2 separate regions of the Homo sapiens genome follow, and region 2 is linked to region 1. The links are contacts of gene promoters, found by promoter capture Hi-C in blood cells and fetal thymus (Javierre and others, 2016). All regions are on one chromosome and are shown on one strand. The core of a region is centred on a gene start or on the middle of the fragment in contact, and the rest is flanking DNA. Distances in the headings are between cores, read along the strand shown. Region 1 holds the start of GLRX3 (glutaredoxin 3). Region 2 overlaps MGMT (O-6-methylguanine-DNA methyltransferase).

What was found. Contacts are between HindIII fragments. The CHiCAGO score rates a contact against its expected background, and 5 or more counts as called.
Region 2: a fragment that was not itself captured here is called in contact with the fragment with the promoter of GLRX3 in region 1 in 1 of 17 cell types (total CD4 T cells); the score reaches 5.0 in total CD4 T cells.

The regions. Positions count from the first base shown.
Region 1 is chr10:130,134,322-130,140,370 of GRCh38, reverse strand. GLRX3 (glutaredoxin 3) reads right to left here and starts at 3,980. Exons shown (of 11, transcript NM_006541.5): 1 at 3,859-3,980. The coding sequence starts at 3,950. It overlaps LOC105378561 (a long non-coding RNA gene), which reads left to right and starts at 4,000. Exons shown (of 6, transcript XR_001747659.2): 1 at 4,000-6,049. RefSeq lists enhancers at 1,600-2,234, 2,235-2,870, 3,149-3,198 and a silencer at 3,399-3,998. The HindIII fragment of the contact is 5,217 bases long and covers 2,641-6,049 here.
Region 2 is chr10:129,481,780-129,488,375 of GRCh38, reverse strand. The region is part of intron 1 of MGMT (O-6-methylguanine-DNA methyltransferase); the gene reads right to left. Among named protein-coding and RNA genes, the nearest start is that of MGMT, 18 kb to the right of the region's middle. The HindIII fragment of the contact is 5,048 bases long and covers 2,458-6,596 here.

The sequences.
Region 1 (6,049 bases), core at 2,731-5,230:
ATGTTACAGTATTCTTTCCATCTTAATGGATAGCCCCATATGCCTGGAGCATTGTTGGAGAAAAACCATCAGACAAAAACCACATTCAAATCCTGACTAATGTAACTTTAGACAATGTAATAAACTTCAGCTCTTCATCAGCAAATAGTTGTTTTTCAATTATTATAGTATTCTGCTACTACATTCATCTGCAGATACCAGCTACTGCTTATTAAACATATCATATACTAAACCTGCTTACTCTGCAAATGGATATTAATAACCCCATTGTACAAACCAGCTGAGATTTCAGCAACTTATGTAAATATCTGATTCAACTACTTAAAAGAAAAAAATTTCAATTCATGTCAAATTTTAAAATTGGAGAAGCGATGATTTGGAAAGTAGATTTAAAATTATTACATCAACACAAGTACTAAAATTCGGGCACTTTTTGTTTTTTGAGACAGGGTCTCACTCTGTCACCCAGGCTGGAGTACAGTGGCAGGATCATAGCTCACCGCAGCTTGGAACTCCTGGGCTCAAACAATCCTCCCACCTCAGCCTCCTGAGTAGCTGGGGACTACAGGCATGCATCACCATGCCTGGCTACTTTTTTTATTTTTTGTAGAGATGGGTTCTATGTTGTTCAAGCTACTCTCAAACTCCTGGCCTCAAGCCATCCTCCCAAAGTGCTGGGTTTGCTGGTGTAAGCCACCATGATATTCTTTTTTTGGTTTTTTTTTTTTTGAGATGGAGTCTTCGTCTGTCGTCCAGGCTGGAGTGCAGTGCCACGATCTTGGCTCACTGCAAGCTCCGCCTCCCAGGTTCATGCCATTCGCCTGCCTCAGCTTCCCGAGTAACTGGGACTACAGGCACCTGCCACCATGCCTGGCTAATTTTTTGTATTTTCTTTAGTAAAGACGGGGTTTCACCGTGTTAGCCAGGATGGTCTCGATCTCCTGACCTCGTGATCCACCCACCTCGGCCTCCCAAAGTGCTGGGATTACAGGCGTGAGCCACCGCGCCCGGCCTAATATTCTTAAATGTCTCCATCTTCACCAAAAAAGCTGCAGAAATGTGCTCCTTCCCCAGATGCCACACATCATTTATCACGTGTCCGTTTGAACTAGTCACTAAGGAAAGTGCACATTGTTTCCTGGGCCATTTCAAGTACAGGCCAGCGGCAAGGATACAACATCCAAATGGTACTTACATTTAAACTTTTATCCATTTTGGCCGGGCGCAGTGGCTCATGCCTGTAATCCCAGCACGCTGGGAAGCGGGCCCATCACCTAAGGTCAGGAGTTCAAGACCAGCCTGGCCAACATGGTGAAACCCATCTCTACTAAAAATGCAAAAATTAGCCAGGCGTGGTGGCGGGCACCTGTAATCCCAGCTACTCAGAAGGCTGAGGCAGGAGAATCATTTGAACCCGTGAGGCAGAGGTTGCAGTGAGCCAAGATTGTGTCACTGCACTCTACTCCAGCCTGGGCAACAGAGAGAGACTCTGTCTCCCCCCCAAAAAAAAAAAAAAAAAAAAACACTTTTATTCATTTTGATAGTTTAAGGACTTTTTAAAACATGAAGCATTTAAAACAAACATGTAAAACAGACAAAACAGCCTTTCAGGTGATGGTAAATTCAAAACGTTTACTTAGGGCAGGTCCACACAAGACCTGCTCATTTCAAGAGGCCACTTCTGGTGACTCCTGTGATTGTGCTGATCTGTACTGGATGAGTCAGAGCCCAGCTTCCATCAGTGAGTAAATGTCACATGTCCCTCCCCAACCCCTGCTTTTTTCCGTAACAATTTCCCAGGTAAACCTGAAATGCCTAAAGAGCTGTTTAAATAACACTTTAATTTCATCACCCCCATAAAGCATTTCTAACCATTAGTCAGTAACTCGCACCCCTCCCCATTTCCAAAGGCAACACCCCATCTCACCTGCACTCTCCATTGCAAAATCAGAGTACTACTTGCCTCTAATTCAAATTCAGTCGGCAAAATTTCACTCAATTTAGATCAACAGGGCAGGTCACGGGGGCTCAAGCCTGTAATCCCGATACTTTACAAGGCCGAGGCAGGCGAATCACTTGAGCTCAGGAGTTCCAGAGACCAGCCTGGGCAACATGAGGAAACCCTGCCTCTACGAAAAATACACAAATTAGCCCAGCGTGGTGGACCGCACGTGTAGTCCCAGATACTCAGGAGGCTGAGGTGGGAGGATCGCTTGAACCCAGGAGGTAGAGGCTGCAGTGAGCCGAGATCACGCCACTGCACTCAGCCTGGGCAACAGAGCAACAGCCTGTCTCGAAAACAAACAAAACAAAATTTAGATCAATAAGCATTTCTGGCCGGACGTGGTAGCTCACACCTGTAATCCCAACCCTTTGGGAGGCTGAGGAGGGCAGATCGCTCGAGTCCAGAAGGTCGAGACGAGGCTGGGCAACATGGCGAGACCTCGTCTCTATAAAAAAAAATAAAAATTAGACGGGCGTGGTGGTGAGCACCTGTGGTCCCAGCTACTCGGGAGGATGAGGTGGGTCGATCACTTGAGCCTGGGAGGCGGAGGCTGCAGGGAGCCGTGATCGCTCCACTACACTGCAGCCTGGGTGACAGAGCCAGACCCTGTCTCAAAAACAAAACAAAACAAAGCTTTTTGCCTGTGAATTCCATGAACCATTCTACTTCCTACTGAAATACTAAGTGCCAACATCTACTGAGTGCTTCCTGCATACTAGGCATTGTATTATTTGTATTTTACATACGTCATCTCATTTAACCCTCACAACAACCCTGAGGTACTAACAGGTGCTAATCTATGTCACCGTCGGGAAACTGAGGCTTGGGCATGAAACGTGCCCAGGGGTTACATGGCTACTGAGTGGCTGCGGTGGGACTGGATCCCAGGCAATCCGACATAAGAGTTCCCATAACAACCGCTAATAATACAACTAAGAGAACAACTCAGTCCTTGGAGTAGTCTACAATGTGAGGTGGTATTATCACGGAGAGTCCACGTGCAGACCTTTCCCTGCAGGCACGCACGCTAGTAAGCATTTACTCGTAAGCATGCTTGCAGTTCAGAGCTTCTAGTCCACCCAGAAAACGCTTTCTATGCATTCCTCTGGATCTCCTTTTGTAGTCTTCCCAGGGATTGAAGACCTGGACACCGGCGCCAAATCTGAACAGACTCTCACTACACCAGTTCATGGAACAGGAAATCTCTGTCTCCGGCAACAGGTTAAGTCTGAAGACTGAGGCTACCTGCTGTCCAACAAACTTTAAAGGCTGACTTCAAAAGGCAGCCAGGCCTAGCTAATGCAACGGGGCCTTCCCTCGCCGCTCTTCCTGCGACAGGGGCGTTCCTGAAGGGAGGCTGAAGAGCAATGGGCCGACGCCGAGCCTGCCGCTCCCTCCCGGCGGGCACAGGAAAGGTGGAGCCCGCAGCCGTGGGTCCCGCTCCGTGGCGCGGAGGGCCGGGGTCTCGGCGCCGCCCCGTCCCCCGCCCCGCCACTGCGGCACGGCTGAGTCACCACCGCCTCCGTCCCGCGGCGGGGCCGCCCAGGCCAGAGGCCGGGAAGGTCGCGTCCCCCGGGCTTGGACAGCCGTCGGGGTCGGAGCCAGGGCTGGGGCCGGGGCTTCCAGGCGAGCCTCGCGCCCTGCTCGCTGTTCCGGGGCGGGGAACCTGCGGCTCGGGCCACTCACGCGGAGGCTCGGGGGAGTCTACGGGTGGCGCCGGGCCCGGTCCCCCGAGGCCGAAGGGAGCCGGGCACCAAGAAGCCAGGCTGGGCCACCCGCCGCCCCACACCGGCCCGGTCTCGCGGCCGCTCCCGCTCCGGCTCCTCACTCCTACCGCTCGCCGCCCCGCTTACTTGGCTTTGAGGCGCAGCAGCTCCTCAAACTGCCCGGCTGAGCCGACCTCCTCCACGGCCGCTACAGCTGCCTCAGCCGCCCCCGCCGCCATGCTGCCGCCGCCAGACAGAAGCAATCCAGTGCCGGCGGCCGGATGTGGGCGGGGCCACGGGGAGCTGAGCGGCTGCGCGAGGGAAAGCCCCGCCCCTGCCTGCGCTGAGGCTGCCGAGCCTGAGAAATCCCAAAAGGGGCCTCGGCGGCGGGCTCTGGATCCCGCTGGGGGGCTCTGACCCTGCCAAGTCTGGGCACTCCGCTGCGGGCCTCCTGGCTCCCGGGGTTCATGGCTGTTATGGTTCCTGGCTGTCGGGGCTCCTGGCTTTCGGGGCTCCCTGGCTGAAGGGGCTCCTGGCTGTAGGGGCTCCTGGCTATGGAGGTTCCCGGTTATAAGGGCTTCTGGATGTAGTGGATTCTGGCCGTCGAGGTCCCTGGCTGTCGGGGCTCCTGGCCGTAATGGCCCCTGGCTGTCGGGACCCCTGGGTGTCGGGGTTCCTGGCTGTCGGGACCCCTGGGTGTCGGGGTTCCTGACTGTAGGGGCTCCTGGGTGTTAGGGTTCCTGGCTATAGCAGGGGCTCCTGGGTGTCGGGGTTCCTTGCTGTCAGGGCTCCTGGTGGTAGAGGCTTCTTGCTGTTGGCTTCCTGGCTGTCGGGGTGACTGGGTGTCAGGGCTCCTGGTGTTAGGGTTCCTGGCTTCCTGGCTGTAGTAGGGGCTCCTGGGTGTCGGGGTTCCTTGCTGTCAGGGCTCCTGGTGGTAGAGGCTTCTGGCTGTTGGGGTTCCTGGGTGCCAGGGCTCCTGGGTGTCAGGGTTCCTGGCTGTCAGGACACCTGACTCCTGAGGCTCCTGGCTTTTGGGGCTCCAGACCTTCCTTGCACTTCCTGTGTCTCCTGGGTCTGTAATAGAAGGGGCCGGTGGAGGGGTGGGGGTGAGACATGTGAGTGAAAGTGAAGTCAGATGTGTACATTTAGGAAGCTGAAATTATCAAAAATGAAATTGCATAAAGGTGAGGAAGAACTGGGAGGTCTGGGAACAGAAGTGGTAGATCTTGAACTTCAACACAGACAGGGTGCTTCCAATTCAGTCCTGGGACCTGAACCCGGAGCCCACAGCATGTCCCTCCTCCCCTGGCCCTCCGCGCGTGCCGCCACTCATTGCAGCCCCACAGAGCCATCACCCATTGTAACCTCAGAACAGAAGGGGCTGGGTGGGTCCACAGATCCCTGCACTCCTCCCGTCTTGCCTCCTTGGATGATCCCTGGCTTGTCTTTCTCCCTTGGGAATCCCCCTGATGTTGGCTCTCCATGTGGTGTACTCTGTACCCCACACCCCATGCTTCCCACACACCTTCTGGCCTGAGTAATCTCCATGCCCCCAGTGACATCAACCTCCAGGGAAACCTCAATAGCAAGCCCAGAACCCTCCCCTGCATCCCAGAGCCTAGCATCCACTAACTTTGAGGAGGGGCCATCTTTTATTGGATATCCCCAAACCACACTGGGCCTTCCCTCCAAAGTGCCTCTCCTCTTGGTTCCCATCTCAGGGAACACCATCGCTCCCACCCAGACACTTGGGGCTCCTTCTGACTGGTCCCCCTGCTGTCCCTGGGCTTTGAGGCCAAGCCCCCACAGAGCCTTCCCTACTAGCCAGGTGTTCCCAGGCCTCCTTTGCTTGCTTCTACCGTGGCCTGTCTCATGTTGTAGAACTGTGCTTGTCCTCCATTGGCCTGTGTTCTTAAAGGGCAGGAGCTGATCTGTGTCTCAGTGCCTGGATCAGAGTCAGACACATAGGAGGTACTCAGTCCATGCTAACAGCTGCCAGAGGACTGGGCTCACTGGATTGCAAAGACTTCGTACGAGAAAAGTAGCATATCATTCATACTTTTTATATTGATTACATGTTGAAATGAGGATATTTGGATATATTCGGTTTTCTGAAATATATTATTTAAATTGGTCTCTTTTACCTTTGGCTCCTGAGAAATGTCTAATTTCATAGGCAACTTTCATTCGTGGCCCTTGAATTTTCTTGGGCAGCACTACTGTGGTGTTTAAAAGCCTTTTGGAGCCTGTCACATGTATACCTCACCTGGAGAAATACATGGTATTGAACACGGTAAATTGTGTTATTTAAAATGCAACAGGAGAGTGATGAGGAACC
Region 2 (6,596 bases), core at 3,732-6,231, 650 kb after region 1:
GGCATTTCGCAAAAGATGAATGGCAACACGAAAAGATGCTGAAGGTTGCTCTCAATCGGAAGTGCTAATTAAGATCACTATGAGACAGGATTTTTACCCAGTAGGTTAGCAGTGTTAGTAGCATGATAACTCCAAGTTTTGGTGAGGAGGTGGATTAACTGACTGGGGTCTAATCTGCTTTAACCATTTTTACAAAAGTTATTGTCCTGTAGCATTGAACACTGACACTCCAATCATTCTACCCTTGAGTAGAATGAGAGAAAATTTCAAAACTTAACCATCTGACAGTGAGAAACAGCTTGGCTTCCCACTACTAACCATATAGGTATATTCATGTGTGTGTGTGTGTGTGTGTGTGTGTGTGTGTGTGTATACCTATGTGTGTGTGTGTGTGTATACCTGCGTATACACCTATGTGTGTTTGTGTGTGTATATATATACACACACACACACACACACACACCCCTATATGGTATATATATACACACACACAGTCTCTCAATGTCTAGGATCCAACTTAAAACACACACATAAGAAGCAAAGAAATATAACCCACAATCAGAATATATACATACATACACCTACATGGTTAGCAGTGTATAAAGAAAATGAAAATGCAGGCCACAAACTGGGAGAAGAAAATTGCAGCCAATATACCTGACAAAGGATTAGAATCCAGACTATATAAAATAATCCTATAAATCAATAAGAAAAAGAAATCCCAACAGAAACACAGGCAGAAAGGATATGAACAGGCATTTCATATATAGTGTGTGTACATATATATATACAATTTTTTGATTCCCTTCCGGAGGGAAGCAAAAAAAAAGGAAAACAAAATTCAGACAACCAGAAGAGAAAGAAATTTCCTTTCTACCAAAAGTCTATAGGAGGCATCATTTTTGGTAATGATAATATAGTGTATATACCATACATACACACACACATTCCTATTCTTTAAAACTTACATGTAATCCAAAACTGTGCAAGTGAACCCATTTTCTCCTTTACTTCCTAGCAACCCCAGAGATGTGATGTCACTGGAACAAGTTTGGCCTTTACAGATAATCAGAGTCCTACTTGAAAAACTCACTGTTCCTCTGAGGAACCACTGCAACCATCATGACTTCTTCCATTCTGTATGCTCATGTGGACCCCCATGAGAGCAGGGCAAACCATCCAAGCCACCTGCAGGTCCCCATACACTTATGCAGGGCACCTAATTATTCTTTGTCAAGAGTGGGCATGGCTTCAGGAAAAGTGTCATCTCAACAAGCAGGAGGCTAGTGCTGGGTGGTTCATACCAGCTATCCAAGTAGCCCAGGACAAAAGACAGCCCTAGTTGATTGATTTTTCAAATGCAGAGTTGCACAGGGCTCTCTAGGCTGCCCGGGTAGACTGCCATACAAGGCTTTAACGTTATCACCACTATTACATTTAACTGATTAAAGTCCTGACTGCCAGAGGCATTAATGACAGTGTTGTGCGAGTTCTAGCAGGAAAGAATACACTCTTCTTCTGTCTGGTCTCATTTTTGACAACATGAAAATGCTGAAATGACAGACATCAACAGAATACATTTCTAGTGATGACACACACTTAAGCCTGCAATGATGACAAGAGAAAAATAATGTGAATCAAAGACGCCCTTTGTTTCCTCTGCCTTCCCAATCTTGGGTCCCCTCCATATAAAGTTTGAACAGTCCTTCTTCAGAGTAGAAATACAAATAAATTTTTTTATGTTTCTTAACAGAAAGTCAGTTAAGGTTTATACCAATTTCACCAAACACCTGTGATCTGGGATTCACTTGTGAATTTCTCAAACAGTACAGGGAAAGACTGAGTATGAGCTGAACGACCAAAAAGCATACAGAAAATACAATAACCGGCTGGGCGCAGTGGCTCACACCTGTAATCCCAGCACTTCTGGAGGCTGAGGCAGGTGGATCACCTGAGGTCAAGAGTTCGAGAATAGCCTGGCCAACGTGGCAAAACCCCATCTCTACTAAAAATGCAAAAAATTAGCCAGGCGTGGTGATGGGCACCTGTAATCCCAGCTACTTGGGAGGCTAAGGCAGGAGAATTGCTTAAACCCAGGAGACAGAGGTCGCAGCGAGCCAAGATCATGCCATCGCACTCCAGCCTGAGCAACAGAGCAAGACTCTGTCTACCCCCCACCAAAAAAAAAAAAAAAAAAAGAGAAGAGAAGAGAACAGAGAAGAACAGAACCACACCTTGACTTGGTTAGCTGTGCCTAAATTTAGAAGGTAAATTAGTTTTCTTCAACTCTGTTTCCATGAGAAAAAAAAATTAAAAAGGCTATCTATCTATATCAAGTCTAATAAGGTAGATGAACTTAAATTAAGTCTTCTTGAAAATTATTGTCCTTTGAATTCTTATTCTGTGAGGGCCAGAATAAGCAGGCTTAAACATGCCTAGAAAGCAGTCAGTGAAGCTTTCTTTTCACCCACTTCAGGCTGGTAAAAAGTCTGGGGTCAGGGCCAGAGGGCTTTGTGTAATCTGAGCAATCTCAGTCTGGTAACAGCCCAGCAGGCCTCTCTTTTATTTTTATGAGTCCACTAATAACTTGGTGGGGATCCCACTTCTAGCCATGACAGAGCAGCAAGAACCACATGTAACAGCTAAAACGAAATAAAGTCCAGGATGAGTAGCCTGAAATTCTGGGAACCAGAAGTGCTTCAGGTTTTAGATTTTTCTGGATTTGGGAATATTTGCAAATACTTACAGTTGGAGCATCCCTAATCCAAAAATCCAAAATGCTCCAATAAGCATTTCCTTTGAGCATCAGCTTTGAGCAGCATGTCAATGTTCAAAAATTTTCAGATGCTGTAGCATTTCAGATTTTGAATTAGGGGTGCTCAACTTTTATATAAAACAATGGTCTTCAGAACAAGGACAACAGCAGCCAGGGGCTATGCTCCCCAAGGAAAGGGAAGTGAAGTGAGCCAGCCGCCAGAGAACGGCTGGATGCAGCCTCCAGGCTGTGCCAAGGAGGAGGAGGGTCATCTGGCACAAAACCAGTGGGTGCTCTCACCAAAGTGGGGAGAGAGATTAGAATTCAAAAAGAACAAAACACCTAGAATCATCAGGATGGAGTACCAGGGAAGAAGGGCCTACTCAGAGAACACGCCAGGCATCTCCAGAAGAGTCCCTGTGGCCTCTGCCTAACTACTGAGACACTGCTTGAGAAGGAACTCCCTGAGGTCAAAGAAAGATGCCCAGAAGTAGCAGCCCAAATAATTCCTGATCACAGACAGAGCTGGGAATATTTCATGTTCTCACCAGCCAGTGTGGAAAGATCTCCTAATACAACATTCATCAGGTAAAGACCTCAGAGCTGCCTTATTTTTCATATATATACATATATATGTAATACATATATATTTAATACACACATATATAAAATACACACATACATATATATAATACACACACACATACATATATACACATACACACACCCTTATAAAGTAAAGACATTATGTAAATAGTAGGACTAAACTATCCCTGGACTAAAACCTGGTCTGGACCTGCCCTAACAAAACCTTTTTTTAAAAAAAGCATGATACCTTGAAAGGATACAAACAATTTCAAGAAACTGAACCTGCAGCAGAACAAAGTCCAAAACTGTTTTTTAAAAGACAACATAATCTAGCACTCCACAACAAAACTCTCAATGTCTAGGATCCCATTTAAAACACACACACATGAGAAGCAGAGGGATATAACCCACAATCAGGAGAAAAATCATTCAACAGAACCAAACCCAGAAAAGTAGAGATGCGTAAAACAAGGGGACTGGGACATAAAAACAGTTCTTATAAACATGCTCCATATTTGAGAAGATAGAGGAGAACCCACATATGACATGAGAAATAGAAGATATTTTAAAAGGCCCATATGGAGCATATAGAGATGTAAAATGCAGTCTCTAAAGTAAAAAATACAATCGATAGGATGTACAGATTAGATGCAGCAGAAGGAAAAAATAGCAACAATGAGAAAATAACGTTTTTTAAACTATCAAGGCACAGAAACACAAAAAGACTGAGGAAATGAGCAGGGCTCAGGGAGACACAGGACAGTATGAAGCAGCACATGCGCAATTGGAGCCTCAGAAAAAGGGGAGGCAGGAAAAATATCTGAAGAAATATTCAGTGACATTTCCTCAAATCTGATGAAAAATCTATATGAGGTAAAACAAGGTTGAGCACACCTAATCCAAAATGCTCCAAAACCCAAAAACTGCACCAACACAATGCCACAATTGGAAAATTCCACACCTGACCTTGTATGACAGGTCTCAGTTGAAATACAGTCAAAATTTTGTAACATGCACAAAATTATTTAAAATAATACATAAGATTTCCTGCAGGCTATGTGGATAAGGTATATGTGAAACAAAAATTCCATGTTTAAACTTGGGTCACATCCCCAAGGTATCTATATCTATATCTATCTATCTATATATCTATTTATCTACCTATCTATCTATGCAAATATTCCAAAATCCAAAAAAAATCCAAAATCAGAAACACTTCTAGTCCCAACCATTTCAGATAAGGGATATGTAACCCATTCTCACAGATGCAAGAAGCTCAGTGAAACCCAAGCAGAAGAAACATAAAAACAAATAATCAAACAGCTGAAAACAAGTGACAAAGAGAAAACCTTAGTGGCCAGAGGTGGCAAAAATGCCAGATTACATACAGAAGAACAAATTTAAGAATGACGGCAAACTGATCATCAGAAACTATGCAAGGCAGAACACAATGGAACAACATCTTTAAAGTATTAAAAAGCAAAAAAACAGGTCAACCTAGAATTCACATTTTTTCAAGAATGCAGGTGAGACAAAGGCTTTTTTCAAAAAACAAAAACAAATGCATGACAATTCAGACACCAGCAGACCTGCACTTGAGAAATGATGGTACAAGGTTTTCAGGTGTAAAAAAAATGGTACTCAATGGAAACTAGGATCTACACAAAGGAATGAGGATTTCAAAAAACAGTAAATATGCAAATAAATGTAAATTCTGGATTTTTTAAATCTCTTTAAAAGAAAACTGATTGCCCAACATAAAAATAGTAACTCTATATATTGGAGAATATTACATATGTAGCAATAATATAACAAAAAATGGGATGAGAGAAATTGAAGCATACTTTTGTTAAGGTGCTTATTCTGCATGTGAAGTTGTATTATATCACATGAATGCAGATTATGATAAGCATAAGCTAAGTATGTACATTACACATCCTAAAGCAGCCACTAAAAAAGAAGAGAGATAGCTAACAAGCCAACAGTGTAGACAGAATGTTAAATTGGAATCATTCAAAAACATATCCAAATAACTGAAAAGAAGCTACGGAAGATGGAGGAAGGGCAAAAAGAACAAATTGGTGAATGACAAATGAACAGCCAGATGGTATACTTAAACCCAACCATATTAATAATTACATTAAATGTAAATGGTCTAAATACTCCAATTTTACAAAGACATTGTCAGATTAGATTTTTTAAAGCAAGAGACCCAACTGTGTTTTCTACAAGAAACACACATTAAATGTAATGACAAGAACAGGTTCAACATAAAAGAATGGAAAAACAGTTACCACAGAAACACTAATCAAAAGAAAGCTGGAGTGGCTATCCTAATATCAAATAATTTCAAAAAAGGAATATGACAACAAAACTAGAGAAGGCCATTTCATAAGAGTAAAGGTTAATTCCCCATGAGGATGTTAAAATTCTAAACATGTATGCACCTAATGAAATCACTTAGAACAGATGAACCAAGAACCAACAGAACTGAAAGGGGTAATAAGTCTCCAATCATAGCTGGAGATGTCAATACTCCTAATAATTTTTAGAATAGGGAAACAAAATTCAATAAGGATATAGAAGGCTTGAAGAGCATTATCAACAAACCTTACCCAACTACATTTAAAGAGCACTCCACCCAAGAACCACAGAGTATACACTTTTCAAACATCCACCAAGGTAGACCATATTCTGGGCTGTAAAACAACTCTCAACAAATCTAGGAGGATTAAAATCATAACAGGTATGTCCTCTGATTACAAGGTAACTCACCCCTGCAGATCAATAACAGAAAAATACTGGGAAAGTACCCAAATATTTTTTAAATCCCCAAATTCTTGGAAATTAAATGATGTACTAATAAATAACCCAAGCATTAAAGAAGAAACCACAAGGAAAATTGGGAAATACGCCACTCTGAATCAAAATGAAAACACAGCATGTCTATCTGTGAGCACACCTAAAGCAGTGCTTAGAGAGAATTTTTAGCATTAAATGTTTATATGAGAAAAGAAGAAAGGAAAACCAAATGATCTAAGCCTCTACCCTAAGAAACTACAAAAAAGAAAGCAAACTAAACTGAAAGTAAGCACAAGAAAGCAATAATAAACAGGAGAAATCAGTAAGAGAGAAAAATCAAGTAACGAAAGTTGGCTCTCTGAAAAGAAACAGATAAACCTCTAGCCAGACCAGTTAGCAAAAAAGGGGACAAAGTGCAAATTACCAATATCAGGAATAAAAATAAGGACAT